Linked DNA regions of Homo sapiens: regions 2, 3 and 4 are each linked to region 1. Evidence: promoter capture Hi-C in 16 types of primary human blood cells and fetal thymus (Javierre and others, 2016). All regions are on one chromosome and are shown on one strand. Each heading gives the region's core, a stretch centred on a gene start or on the middle of the fragment in contact. The rest is flanking DNA. Distances are from core to core; before and after follow the strand shown.

Evidence for each region. The method cuts DNA at HindIII sites, captures the fragments that hold promoters and counts their contacts. A CHiCAGO score of 5 or more calls a contact.
Region 2: a contact is called between a fragment that was not itself captured here and the fragment with the promoter of LRRC30 in region 1, in 1 of 17 cell types (fetal thymus). The highest score is 5.8, in fetal thymus.
Region 3: a contact is called between a fragment that was not itself captured here and the fragment with the promoter of LRRC30 in region 1, in 5 of 17 cell types (M0 macrophages, M1 macrophages, fetal thymus and 2 more). The highest score is 9.3, in M0 macrophages.
Region 4: a contact is called between a fragment that was not itself captured here and the fragment with the promoter of LRRC30 in region 1, in 3 of 17 cell types (M2 macrophages, M1 macrophages and M0 macrophages). The highest score is 8.1, in M2 macrophages.

What each region holds. Positions count from the first base shown.
Region 1 is chr18:7,229,371-7,233,026 of GRCh38, reverse strand. LRRC30 (leucine rich repeat containing 30) reads right to left here and starts at 1,938. Exons shown (of 1, transcript NM_001105581.3): 1 at 983-1,938. The coding sequence starts at 1,888. The coding sequence ends at 983. The HindIII fragment of the contact is 6,496 bases long and covers 1-3,656 here.
Region 2 is chr18:8,433,995-8,437,650 of GRCh38, reverse strand. No RefSeq gene overlaps it. Among named protein-coding and RNA genes, the nearest start is that of RAB12, 170 kb to the left of the region's middle. The HindIII fragment of the contact is 4,363 bases long and covers 1-3,656 here.
Region 3 is chr18:8,399,983-8,403,638 of GRCh38, reverse strand. The region is part of intron 32 of PTPRM (protein tyrosine phosphatase receptor type M); the gene reads right to left. It overlaps LOC124904241 (a long non-coding RNA gene), which reads right to left. Exons shown (of 2, transcript XR_007066275.1): 2 at 42-3,656. Among named protein-coding and RNA genes, the nearest start is that of RAB12, 210 kb to the left of the region's middle. RefSeq lists an enhancer at 1,885-2,415. The HindIII fragment of the contact is 3,533 bases long and covers 340-3,656 here.
Region 4 is chr18:8,380,422-8,384,077 of GRCh38, reverse strand. It overlaps PTPRM (protein tyrosine phosphatase receptor type M), which reads right to left. Exons shown (of 33, transcript NM_001105244.2): 29 at 3,651-3,656. Among named protein-coding and RNA genes, the nearest start is that of RAB12, 230 kb to the left of the region's middle. The HindIII fragment of the contact is 618 bases long and covers 1,758-2,375 here.

The DNA.
Region 1 (3,656 bases), core at 689-3,188:
TTTTTTTTAACGTTAACATGGGAAAGTCAATATTACCCTCCTCCAAATTGTAAAAGGGTGATTACTTTTTTGCATGACTTGTCTATGTCTTTCCCCTCTTTTCTGCCTTTTGGTCATTGTTGGCCAAATTATCCCATTTAGTAGTTTATCTCTGAGAGGGCAGATGTAGTCATGGAGAAGTGAAATTAAAATGGGATCATTTGATGATTGCCTAGTGTCTAGCAAAGAAGTTCAAGGACATGACAATGAGTGGGACAGGACTGGGAAGGAAGGTTGAAATACACATTATATCAGTTCATATTTAATATCTGAAAGCCATCCTTCTACCCATTTACTCACCACCAGACATAAGCATGAGTGGCTTGGTTATTCCTCTGTAGCCGCATGAAAGAAAAATTTCCTATGATTGTCCCCCAGAACTCAAGGCGAAAACTCTGCCTCTTTTGGTCACTGGGGACAGAGCCCACTGTGGTTTGCCTTTTGGTCCCAAGTAATGTTTCACAGAGGCTGATGGAGGAACGTGTCTTGCCGTTGCCACCTGGCCACAGGTTGCTGATTCAAGGGCAGAAACTATCTGAAACCAGGTTTCAGCACCTCATACTGTACTTGGCACACAGTACTTAGCAAATATTTGCCTTTTGAATTACATTGAATTCAGACCTGTTAGGTGTCCACTCTCCCAAGGGCTGAATCTCACTGCTCCTCAGAAGAATCAGAACTGTTAGTTCTCTTTGGGGAAAACCAACCCCCTGTTTCAATTTATGTTTAGGATGAGATGAACATGATATTCCAGAGGTTATTAAGAACATACAGAGTTAAAAACAATCACCTCCTTAACGTGGATGTTCAACAGCGACTTAGCAAATATTAACAAAGGTATTGTCAGACACTAAGGATGAGAGTAGAAAGCTGAGACGAGAGAAGTACCCCGGTTGACAGAGTCCAGATGAGCTGCCTCCCATCCAGGCCTCCGGGACCCAGGTCAGGTGTGTTTTTTGTCCTTCAGGTAGCCGAAGAGCATCTCCAGGCCCCCCTCCACCAGCTCCGGCAGAGGCTTGGATAAAGGGTTGTGGGAAATGTGGAGCCCTTTGTCCATGGGATTCCAGGCGATCCTCACCAGTCTACACAGCAGGTGGAGTTCGCTCGGGAGGGTCTGGATGTCATTGTTGTTGAGGTTCAGCAGCTCCAGGCTGGTGACCAGGCAAAGCGACCTCGGGAAGGAGTGGATGTTGTTGCCCTCTGCGATGAAGATCTGCAGGCTGGCCAGGTGCTGGATGCTCTCAGCGATGTTTTCCAGGCGATTCGAGCCCACGTGCAAGAAAATCAGTTCCTTCAGGGAGAACACACACATGGGGATGTGCGCGAAGAAGTTGTTGCTGAGGTTTAGCTTCCTCAGTCTAGAGAGGTCGGCGAAGCATGCAGGGAGCTGGGACAGGCAGTTGTGCGACAAGCTCAGGACCTCCAGCTTTCGGCACAAGCTCAGCTCGGCCGGCACCTCTGTCAGGCAGTTCATGTTGACAAACAGGACCTTGAGGCACTGTAGGAGGCTCACTTCTCTGGGCAGGCTCTTCAGGCGGTTCCCGCACAAGTTCAGGACCACGATCCGGGTCAGTTTCCCCACCTCGGGAGGGAGAACCCGGAGCTGGTTGTGAGACAGATTGAGTTTCTGGACCTCGGACAAGCCCCACAGAAAGTCGGGGATGTCTGTCATTCCTCTCGTGACCAGGCTGAAGCTGACGTGGTGCATGCCCCGCTTCAGCAGGGACCGCGGGTCCCTTCCCGAGAGCAGGGCATCGTCCCACGGAGAAAACTTCTGTCTCCTCCCCGTGAACAGCATCCTCTTGGGGCCCTTATCCTTGGAGCTGGCCCTTGACTGCCTGGCCCCCATTGTACCTTCCCTTCTAGTCACTCTCCTCTGCCACCTCCCAGGCAGGGACCGTGTCCTCTCAGCTGCTAAAAGCCAGGCTGTTGCAGGCAGGGAGTGTGCGTCAGGGTGAGAACCAACTTGTGACTAGGAGGTCCTAGTGTGGAGAAAGCTGCCAGGAGAGTCTTGATCAGGCCTTGCAGGTATCTGAGACAGGTCCCTGGGTGGCTGCAGGAGCTGTGCCTGTTCCCCAGGGTTTAGGTGTTTTCTTTCTTAGCAGCTGGGCTGTAATGATATACTTGTCCAGGAGGCTGCTAAACTGCTCAAATCCCTCTGAATGCCACAAGGCAGCTGTCACTGTCACTCTGCCTGAGTTTTATTGACTGGGTACATGCAAACAGGTCACAGGAAGGCTGCATATAACTTTACTCTCTCAGCTTTTCTTGGGTATCACAGTTGAGCAGGGTGATTAACAAGCCCATCTCTAAAAAGAAGTAAAATGGAAAAACAGAGCAGGCCACACAAGTACGGACTGTTGGCAGGATTGCGGGAGCTCAGCCAGACAACTTTACAGTGAAACTGGGCTGGGTGCTAGTGACAGTTATGTCTCCAAAGCTAAAGATCATCAGATGATATCATAGGTCCCTGTTCCAAACCTTGATGAACTGTGCGTTTGTGAAAAGATAACAAAAGCAGCCCGGATACCTGGAATCTTCCAGGTCAAAGGTTTTTATCCTGTGCTTGTCAGAGGTGATTTAGTGAGAAGGGAGTTGTGGGGGGATCTCAACCCCTCACTCCCATTTCATCCAGAGAAGCTCTGGGCTCATGTGTCTTACAGAGACCTTCTGTATTTAGTAGGATGCACTTTAAGTGTTTGAACAGTCACTTGAGTGGCCACCTTAGTATGGTAAGCGCGGGCCACCTATTGTCCTGGAAGGATATGATGAGGCCCCCCTCGCTACACACCGTTCTCTTTCTCTCTCTCTCTCTTCTCCTCCCTGTCTTTTATTTATTTTTATTTATTTATTTATTTATTTTTCTTTTATTTTTGATGGAGTTTTTGCTCTTGTCGTCCAAGCTGGAGTGCAGTGGCACGATCTCGGCTCACTGGAACCTCTGCCTCCCGGGTTCAAGTGATTCTCCTGCTTCAGCCTCCCAAGCAGCTGGGATTACAGGCACCCACCACCATATCCAGCTAATTTTTGTATTTTTAGTAGAGACGGGGTTTCACCATGTTTGCCAGGATGGTCTTGACCTCCTGATCAAGGCGGGTGGACCTGCCTCGGCCTCCCTGTCTTTTTCTTGAATTAAAAAAGTTAACTTACATCTTAAGTTTGCAGAGTTAATTGTTGGTGTTATGGGCTGAACTGTGTCCCCTCACCCTGCCCTCAAATTTCGTATGCTGAAATTGTAACCCCCAGTATCTCAGAAGGCGCTGGGTTTGGCAATCAGGCCAAGTGAAGACACAGGGAGAAGGCAGCCACCTGCGAGCCAAGGAGAGAGGCCTCAGAAGAAACCAACACCTTGATCTCAGGCTTCCAGTCTCCAGAATTGTGAGAAAAATACATTTCTGTTGGTTAAGCCACCCAGTTTCTTAGAGCAGGTCTGGCAAACTAATATAGTTGGGGAGGAGGCGGACACACATCTGCATAGGTGAAAAATCCTAAAAATAGGTAGTGATTAAGGGGACAAGGGATATCAAGGAGCTGACCTAGGTTCTGAGCAAAGGGCTTGTGGCCCGTGGCAAGGGCTGGTTTGGCCTGGAAGGGTGAGATTTTTGCTGCTATATATC
Region 2 (3,656 bases), core at 771-3,270, 1.2 Mb before region 1:
TGAGGATTCCACGAGGAAGCAAGTGCAAGGGCACTGGTGCTGAGTGGTCCCTCCAGCACTGCTAGTCCATCCCCATCTGCAGGCAGAAGGGAAAGCTCTTGGAGAAGCTGGTTGGGAGGTGCACCATTTCTCTGTGCAATGTACTCAGGGCTGCAGGAAGCAAGATGCTGAGCCAGCACCTGGCTAATATGTCAAAGGGTTCTGGAATTAGCAGAGGGCAAGAGTGGTAGATTGGGGGGTCTGAGCACCCCAAGTTGAGGGAAACAGAAAATTCCGCAGAGGCTAAGATTCCCTGCTGGGAGAGGGTGGAGGGAATTCCGGAGGGAGGAATAGAAAGTGGGATATCAGGACACACTGCTAAGGTGGAGAGAAACCCCGTGTCACCATCTCATTGATGATTAATGAGAGCCACACCCTCATCAAGAAAGAAGACACAGGGAGGTGGCAGCCAGAATGAAGAGGGGGCTCAGGCCAGCAGCGGTGCTTCCCAGGCACAGAGTGGGTCCCTGGGTCACCCTTTGGGTGTGAGGGGCCATGAGAAAATATTTTGCTGGGAGTCGTGTCTGTATGACTAGTATGATTAAAATGTATTTAAAAATTCGTGGGTCCGTGTGAGGTCTAGTGGTTGGCTAATGAAGATCTGGGATGATGAGAGAAGGCCTACTTACCTATGTATTTATTGTCATCAGCACACAAGAAAGTTCTCCGAGGTGTCCAGGCAGCATCTCTCCATGTTCTTTATTGTCAAGTGCGCCATTGCTGGCTAAGCTCATATCTCCATGAGACAAAAGCAGTAACACTGTCATCACTCACCACATGGTGGCCTTGGAACCTGTTTGTACTGAAACAATGTAGACCTGGGACTGTTAATGGGAGGCTGTGGCTGCATCATCACTCCTGAGGCTGCTGCATCCAGGCACTGCCCTTGTGGTAAGGGTTGAATTGTGTCTCCCCAAAAATGTCACCTTATTTGGAGATAGGGTCTCTACTAAGCTAAAATGAAGCCATTGGGTGGCCCCTAATCCAGTATGACTAGTGTCCACATAAAAGGGGAAATTTGGACACAGACTCGCATGTAAGGAGAACATCAGTTGAATGCAAAGATGTTGCCCTTAGCTCGGCCTTGGGTAAGCTAAGCTCTGTGACCTCAGGTAAGTCACTCATTCTCCCTGAACTTCAGTTCCCAATCAAGGAAAAATCAAGAGGAATAACCTTACCATTTAGTGTAGGGGGCTGAGAGTGCACTGCCTGAGTCTGAATTCTGCCGTCACCTGCTGTCGATGACATGCTGGCATGCTACCTAGCCTTTCTGTGTCTCGGTTTCCTCATCTATAAGGATAGAATAACAATAGTACCTAGGTATATGGTTCGTGAGGACTCAATAGTGAAGGCAAGCGAAGAATCAGACACGTAGCACACAGCAAGCACACACTCAAAAGGTGTCTGTGACTGTTATTGTTATGTGGGGTGGCGTGTGGGATTCCAGGTGCTCTGCAGGCAAGCACTCAACACGGTGCCTGGCACGTGGCAGGCAGGCAAAGGTGGGCCTGGAAGGGCCTCTCGCCCACCCCTCTTGTCTAAAACGGTCCACCTCTAAGGGAGGTTGGAGGGGGAGACCAGGCTCTTGAAGTGAGCTTCCCAGGGAAGGTCATCAGAAGTCAAAAAGACAAATCAAGTGAGAGAAAAGTAATCAAGTGAGAGAAAAGTAACCAAGTGAGCAAAAGAAAAGAAATCAATGTCAGAAATGGCAACAAGGACAGAAAAGCATCTACGATGTATCAGATGAGTGGATGGAATGAGAAAAGACAGGAGATGAGGAAGGGAAGAATAAAGAGACGGGAAACCCAGACAGCTGTGAGCAAGGGCCCTGGAAAAGGGAGGACAGGTGTGCAGCGTCGTGCCGCTTGCCGCCTGCTGACTGAGGACATCTGCACACCGGGTTTGCATCTTCTGTCCTGCCTGGTGAAACAGGAGGAGTTTGGGCATGTGATGAAGGCGTGGCTCACTTCTTCCATGTCCCGCAGCTCGAACCCCTAGAGGGGGCATGCAGACAGGCAGGTCGTGGGGAGCATGGGCTCTGACCCTATGGCAGCGTCTAGGGTTGAGTGTTTACAGCTCCCGAAGCCCCAGTGGGCGTGTGTTACAGTGCACTTTTTCAGCTTAGCGGTTCACAGGTGGCTTGTGTTAATCAGCTCAGTTAGACCCTCTGCCTTATCACAAGGAGAGAGGGCTTTCTGTATCCTGGGGTTCTTGCCTTAGCGTACCAGAAAATCAGATGACACATGGGCTTGGAGAGTGAGTGCAAGGTTTTATTGAGTGGTGGAAGTAGCCCTCAGCAGATGGATGGGAGCCAGAAGGGAGATGGAGTGGGAAGGTGGTTTTCCCCTGGATTCAGGCCATTCAGCAGCCAGACTCTCCTCCGACATTCCCCGGCCGAATTCCACGCCATCCGCATGGTTCTGCTGTCAATGGCTTGCTGGAGTCTGCCAGTGTGTTCTTCTGTCGGTGTGTTCCTCTCAACGTCCAGCCGCTCATGTGTGTGCCCGCTAGGGTCTTGGGGTTTTACAGGCACAAGTTGGGGGGCATGGTGTGTCAGGGTGGTCTTGGAAAATGCAACATTTGGGCATGAAAACAGAAGTACCTGTCCACACCTAGGTCCATGGGCACAGGCCAGAGGGTGGAGCCTTCATCAGGGACCCCGCCTTTCTCTACCTAGCACTTCCCTGCCCCGCTCCCATATCACTGGGAGCTTCCATCAAGCCCCCTGCCCTGGTGACCTCCCGAGGCAGGGGACAGGTGAGCCAGAAATTGGCACTTCAGAGAGAACCTGTAAGGTGGGTCTGGGCTCAGCTGTACCAGGAGGAGACGAAAATGCTTATCTGCACCTGCACCTCGGGAAATCAAGGCTCTCTTTTTCCAGGAGTCACATTAGGGAGGAGCCAGCTGGATGCAGGGGTTGGCATTGCTCCTGACGCCCAGGCTCTCCCCTGAAGGAGAAGCATAGTCCTGCTTCCACCTTTCTCGTATGTCATTTAGGGTATAATAATATGAGCAGGTACATAATGCCAGGCAGGGCTCTAAACGCTTCACACAAATTAATCCATTTAAGTCCCTCCACAACCCTATGAAGTAGATGATGCTCATCTCCTTCAGCAGAGGGGAAACAGAGGCTCAGGGAGGGAGCTACCTGGCTGAGGTCGCTCAGTCAGCGGCAGAGCTAGAATTCAAACCTGGTCACTGGCTCTGCGCCCCTGCGTACCATGGCAATCCTCCCTCAGGGGCACGGCCCTTTAGCTTTATTATTGCTGTTTTTAAAAAATTGTATTAGCAGTTCATTTATTTTACACCACAATAAATTGCTACTATTTGATGGGCAGGGAAAACGGATTTCTGTGCCTCTGTAGTTTAGGGCGATTACTTGTTTGATTGAGATTTAATGAGTGGAAATAAAAAATGCTTTGTGTATATACATTATCAGGTAATATATATTCAAAACAGGATATTCAAAGTTAAACATCTGCTAAGATACATTAATTTGTGTGGGAACGTTATTGCCTTGTTCTGATATGAATTTACTGACAAAATCCATCACTCCATAATTTACAAATTGGCTTTGATGTTCTGGGCAGCAGCCTCCCCCTAGAATTGATGAAATG
Region 3 (3,656 bases), core at 857-3,356, 1.2 Mb before region 1:
CATAACTCTGTGAATACACTGAAAACCAGTGAATGACACACTTTAAAAGGGGATTTTTTTTTATTTGGGGTACATGTGCTTGTTTATTACATGGGTATTACACATGTAATGGTGGGGATTGGGCTCCTAGGGTATTCATCCCCCAAATGAATGTTCATAGTGCATTACACGGCTGGTAGGAATGCAAAACACTGGAAACTGATTACAATCGAATGTTATACCCAACAGGTAATTTTTCAACCCTCCCTCTCCTCCCTGCTCTTTTGGAGTTCCCAGTGTCTATTATTTCCATCTAAAAGGGGAAATGTTATGGCATGCAAATTATATTCCAATAAAGCTTTATTAAACAAATCGCTAGTAGAAAAATGCTTATTCCATGATGTGAATCCTACCTTTAATGTCTGTGAAGGACTCAGGTGGAACTGCAACTGGGTGGACTCTGACATAGGAAACATGAATCCAGTTGTTCTTTGCTTTCTAGACTCATGGGTCTGAGTGCCCCACACTGACCAGGAGCCTGAGGTCCTATTAACCATCCCCGACATCTTGGCCAATCCATTCCCCTCTGGTCATAAAACAGGGGGTTGGATCATATTTAAGTTTCCCTTCCAGCTTTCTCAATTTAGAACTTTTGGACTTGGTTTGCCTTTAAAGTAAGTCTGATGACATTTGAGAAGGTGTTCCTTAAATTATCTCCTAGTGCAAATAACAAATATTTTACTAGCCTGTATTTCCCTTAAATAGACCACTTTTTCCACACACAATGCCAATAAAGGTAGAAGTATTTTTTTAACTTTTTAACTGGAAAAAATTATTTCTTGCCCTGGGCAAAATTAGATTTCTGATTCATATTCTAGTATTTATTATTTCAGGATTTGATACTTTTATTTTCAGAATATTTAAAAGAGATAATTGGAATTTCAAAATTCCAAAAGGCCACGTTGTCAGATCACCAGGCCGACATCTTGGCTGTGAAGTGCTCCCATCATGCTTTTGTGAATCACAGGGACAATTCTTTCTGTAATGGAAATCTACACGGTCCCATCCCTTACTGCATAAAAAAGATTTTATACAAGCCTAATTGTGCAATTAATTTCAGTGGCTACTCAGAGCCATCCTTTTAACATATTTCCTTTTAACATGTTAAAATGCACCTAGTGGAGAGATGTGGCTGCTGCCCTCAGGCCACAACACAGGCCGGAAACTCAGGAGGGATTTTGGGCTTCGCTGCTAAGGAGCTGCTGCTTGGAAGTCACCGAAGCTGCCCTGTCTCAGGCATGACTATAATTTTCAAAATGAATTCTCCCTCTCCCACCTTATCCTTCCTGAGCAAGCACCCAGTCCCCATAGATTCTGTGATGACTGGTTTCTGAATCAGAAAAATAAGGGGAAAGAGAAGGAAGACCACAAATTGTTGTGTCCCCTCCCCCAAGCACCTGGGTAAATGCCTGAAATCTTCCTACATTGGAAACTGATTACATTTGATTACCAGGTATAGGTCTATCTGCTGCAGTTTCCTCTCTCAGCTCACTCCCTTTTGAACAGTATAATTAAGCCACATGAGCCATCCCTGTGCTCCAGGGGAAAAAGGAATGTTTAGGCCTTGGTCCTGAGTGCTCCAATTTGGGTGACATTAGCTGGCTTCGGGCATGAGGAGGTGCCCTGAGTAGGGGCTCAGGTGGGAGCCTGGCCCGGTCCTCCTCACATCCTTGGGTCAGACCGTAACCAGGGCAACCTGCTGCTATTCCTCACCAAGGTCCCTGACGCTGGCCCCGCTCCCGATCAGACTTCCTGTACCTATGAGTGGGAGAAAGCAAAATGTGCAAGGGAACTGGAAATTGAGGTTGGCTGTTAAAAGCCACTGCTAGCTTGGTGAGGGCGTCACGAGGCCAGCACACCAGCGGGCGGCACTGGGGGCCTCCGTCAGGGGCCCGAGCCTTGTCGTCTGCGCAGGCTGCCTGTGTCTAAGGAACTCAGGCTGGCGGCCAGCGTGGGCACTTCAAACACCACATCAACGGCCTCCAAAGGTTCAAAGAGAATAGCCTCCACCTCTGACCTGGTTGCTTTTGAAACTAAGGCAAGCTCTATGATTTTGGCTAGACCCTGAACGGACAGATCCTTCGGGCTGGAAAAATTCTTCTGAGTGATGCCCTGCCAGAAGGGCAGCGTGGGCCCTATTACCGTGGTGGGATCCCTCAGTTCAGTGTTCCCAGCCAGGTTGTGGCCAGCCACTCTGTGCCAAGGAGACCAATAAATTCTCATCCCTGCTCAGCGAGACAGCAGCATGTCCCTGGAATGATGAGTGGCTCATTCCCTTAATCTCTATCTTTAATACCTATAGGTAGAACTTTCTTCACCAAAGCCCCCTGCAAAATCCATGCCCAGTTCCTTATTGAGGCCCTGCTGAGCACAGCCACAACCTCCCCTAGGTTGGAGAGGGCAGCAAAGGGTGGCTCAGGTTGGACTCAGGTCTGGCTGCAGAGAAGAATGGTTCAGTCACTCAGAAAATGCTTACTGGGAAACTCCTGGGAGCCAGGCGCTTGGCTGGTGCTGAGTGTAGGGGGCAGGATGGGCAAGTGGAATCTGGGGGTGGGGAGAGGGGATGGGGTATTAGCAAAAATTATTACAAACCTTCCTCAACAGTGCAGGAAGACTGACCATGGGTGGATTCAAGGTGCCTGGAGTGTGGATTGGGGACCCTAGCTCACCTCTGATTCCCACCCAACTCCTGCACTCACCACCCCAACACATGCACACACACATGCACAGCCGTTAAATAGGCTGCAAATTTCACAGCAAGAGCTATTGAGGGACAGCCTATACACACCAGTTGGTGGCACAAGGGGGAGAGCTGTAGGCCCCACACCACATTGCATTTTGTATGTGAGTCCATTGTTGGCTTACTAAAGGGGAGGTGAGGCTGAGTCTGGAGGGTCGGCTGTAAGTTACAGAGGGGGCAACCTGAACCTGTGCGGCAGATCCGCAGATCAGGATGGGGCCTGGCTCTGGAGTAAGTGGGACGGAGGGGGAGGGGGCGGCGAGCTGTGAACACCGCCGCATGGCACTGCAGGGAAGGGAGAGGCCCGCTGATCCTCCTACACCAACTTTCTCAGCCGTGTGGCACGTCTATCCTACCTGGCGGGGGCTCCATCTCAGAGCCTCTGGCTGAAGTGGGCTGGGGCAGGCCTGTGCACTGGTATTTCTGAAAGCTCCCCCGGGAGTTGGGGGTGGGCGGATTCTCAAGTGCAGCCTGGGCTGATACTGCGTCTAGAGCAGACATGGTTCTTAAGCTAGGCTGCACATGAGACTCACCAGGGGCTTTTAACACTCGGCTGCTGCAGCCAGGCCCCTGACCAATCGAATCAGTCTCCAGGTGGGCCCAGGGATCAGAATTGTTCTAAAGCTCCCAGATGACTTCAGTGGGCAACCAGGCTTGAGAACCACTGAGGAGATGCTCTTTTCTGAATCTTACAAGGCACGTGATGGTGGACGGGGCTGTTCCTGTTACACCTGGTCTGAGATGAAGCTCACACACACAGTGATTGAGCTCTGCCCTGTTCTCAGGTCCCCTACACTAACCTGTGCCCTTTTTCTCCCGGTGCAAGAGCATGCACTGCTTTACCACCCTTTATCCTGGATTTCTCCCAGCAACTCAG
Region 4 (3,656 bases), core at 817-3,316, 1.2 Mb before region 1:
CTGATTCCTCAACTCCACCTGTCCTTTTCCTGGGACTTTTTCCTTCATTTTCTCAGAAAGCACCTTTTAAGCCATGAGTAATTCTGCTTTCCAACGAGGTCATGTGGATGGCAGTCGCCATGTCCCCTTTTGCATGGTGAAGGGAACTCTCATCAGGCCCCGGGGAGAGGCACTAGGTGCCACCCCAGGATGTAAGGTACTCAAGATGGCTATACAACTCTTAATGCCCAGATCTCCACGCTCTGCTGGCTGGGATTGCATGTGGATTTATAACCACTATTGGGAATAAGGCTATTTTGTGACAAGGTTTGGAACTGATAACATTGTTGGGTTGCATTTTTATGTTCCAGTCCAAACCCTTGCAGCTCAGATCTAGCAAATCTGCTGTAATAAGAATAAATGCTTTGCTGTTCTGCCTGGAAGTGGCCTAATTAAAAAAGCAATTTCCTACAGCCTCAAACTCTAGGTATTGTTGATACTGAGTAACTAAAACATTTGCATGAATGTAAATGCACAACTCAGGGCAGTAGGAGTGGTGCTGGGCATGGTGGCTTATGAAGGTGCTTATTAGCCAGCACCCCACAAAATTCCTACCCTTGGAAATAGTCAGGAAGGAAGAACTGCTAAGATTTTTTTCTTCAAAAACCCTTCTCAAAGCCCCGAAACCTTAACAGGCATTTAAAGTTTGAAATTACTCTTCCTTTGGGACTTCTTATTCCTATAACTTTTTTTTGAGTAGCATCTACCTTTTTTTTTTTTTTTTTTTTTTTTTTTTTTTTTTGAGGCAGAAGCTCGTTCTGTCGCCAGGTTGGAGTGCAGTGGTGTGATCTCGGCTCACCACAAACTCCGCCCCCCGGGTTCAAGCGATTCTTTTGCCTTGGCCTCCTGAGTAGTAGGGACTACAGGCATGCGCCACCACGCCCGGCTAATTTTTGTATTTTTAGTGGAGAGGGGGTTTCACCATGTTGGCCAGGATGGTCTCGATCTCTTGACCTCATGATCCACCCGCCTCGGCCTCCCAAAGTGCTGGGATTACTGGTGTGAGCCACTGCGCCTGGCCGCATCTAACTTTTATCTTTCTGATTTAGCTGAGGGACAGGTGGCCTATGGAAAGGCAAGGGGAGAACTACTTTATTATACAACCTGTTTCTATCCTGGGCCAAGAGCAGAGGAAGACAATCACCTAATTTTATGCAGAATGATGTGTCAGGAAAGGAGGATCCACTGGCTGAATTTCTAGATGACTTCTGTTTTCCAAAGGATCTAAAATCTCATTGTCAAAGGTTGCTAAGGTTGATTTATACCCAAGATTGCAGGATAGTTTTCAGTTAGCAGTGGGCCAATCAAAACAGCAGTATCTCTCTCTCCATCACAGAACAGTTAAGGTTGGGATTTTATAAGTAAGAATGAAAGTAGGGTAACCAAGGGTGCCTTTTATGTTAGCTATGCTGACAGTATTTTAAAAATTACATTTATTTATTTTTAAATAATGCTTCCGTGAAATATTTCCTTCCTCACCAGCACTTCCTGGTGACAAGTTATAAAACTGCCTTGTCAAATAATAGCATGTGATGTTTATGTTCTTTTTGATGCCCAAAGTGTACCCACTGTTGAAATTAATAGGCATTATGATGGGAAGCCGAGATGTTAATAAAAGCTGTAACATGTACATCTGAACCGTTCTGCCCATTTTTCTACTGCCTGAGCTTACTCTGCTTTCTGCTTGCTTTCTCAGTTCAAGCTCCTGACCAAAAGCTTGCCACTTACACCAAAGAAATATGAGTGACGTGGGTTGCACTTGCCTCTTGGCACATTGCATTCTATGCTCTGCCCAAGTAAACCATGTAGAAAATGGCTTAAATGGTGCATAACACGTCCGTGAACCGGACCTATAAATACTTAAAATAGTTGAGTGCTATTCTTGTAGAATTGCAAAGCCTTTACATTCAAATGCTCAGTTTAGTGTTCGCTAAAAGACTGAATCCCAGGAGCCTCTTTTCTCTCACTCTGAAAATCAGCTCTGTCTGCTGAATAGAACTGGAGTCTTTTTGTCTCTCCTACCCATGAGCCAGCCAAGGCTTGGTTTGAGTCCAGATAGTTCGGGTTTAGAATGCGGCTTTAGAATTCCAATGCAGTTTTTCAAAAAGAATGCACTAGAATCACTGATGTCTTGTTCACTAATATGAACAAAAATATCTCCACATTTCAGGATTCACATTAAGAAAAAAACCATCATGATTCTAAATAAGGAAGAAGTCCCTTATTCTATAAGTGTCTGCAACTTAAGACTCTAGAATTAGTGAAATTTCGGCCGTGCCACTGTAAGTGAGAAAATCAGGACCCTTGGTTCTATTTTGAGTTGGGTCTTTGAAGCTTCACAAGCCGTGGTGTCTGCTTGTCTTTATAAATGACTGTAAGCTAACCTTCTCAGAGCATCAGTGGGGAAGAGTTTTAAAATATTTAAGCTTCTTAAGCCAAAAGGACTGGATAAGAACAAAGATTATCATTACTATTTCATTAACCAGCTTTCAGGCAAGAGCTTTGACAATATAATGCAGTGCCTCAGACATAATTAAAAACCTTATAGAACTGAATTGAATGTCCATGCCATTTATGGCTGGATGATGGCAAGAAAACAGATTGTAGGAAGGAAAAATCTTGCCATCATGTCCAGTTGGGATGCCGAAATGCTTCAGACTTTTTTTTTTTTTTTTTTTAAGAAAAAGAATTTGTGTCTACTGGACAGGAAATTAATTCATTTCCAGAACAAGTTTTTTCTTAAAACACGCTAAGGTCAAACTTCCCATAATGCCTACTGTCATGGTGGTTGTCTATGATTGGTATAGGCACATCCCAAAGCAATAAATTCATCTCCTAAAGGACCACTGTGCTAATGCTTGCCTGACAACCTGCTTCAAGAAAATGTGTCTAACTCCATTACTAACATTGAGTCATCACTGTCCAATTCTTTCTCTTTAATGTTTAAGAGTAACTATGCAAAAGCCCCATTTATCATTCCAAACTTCTCTTATCTCCAAGTCCCAGTATTATTTCTTTTTAATATCTTTACTAAAGCATTGAGAAAACTAATTGCTGTGCCTTAAAATTGCTTGCCTGTCTCTGCTGTCACCCCGACACTGTCACCCTGCATGACAATCTCTACCTGCCCTGCATGACGATCTCTACCTGTAGGCTCCCGGTGAGCTGTGCCAGGAAGCACACAGTCACTCCAGGAATGGGATCTGGGCTGGGTCAAACGCTATCTTCCCTTCTCCACTGTCCTCTGGTTTGCTCATTCTGCTTTGGCTCTGCGATGTTCAGGTTCCTGCTGAGCTCCAACTCGGTCTGCGACCTTGTCAACCTCCAGTGAGTATTTCCATCTTTTAGGAACAGCTCAACTTCTGGCCGTGTCTTGCCCTGTCACCTCAACCATCTATGATTTCAGCCTGTATTTCTGGTTTCAACTGACTTTCTAACCCCTAATTCCGCCTGATTTTTAACCGTTGTGTTCAGCATCCCCAGTTCTCAACTTCAACTGGCACTTGAGATCTGGCACTAGGGCCTGCACTTCTCGGGTGCAAACAAACTCAGTGTAAAAACAAACTTGACCCCCTGGCACTAGTTCTGACTGTAAGAAGTCCGGGTCTCACCTGGGC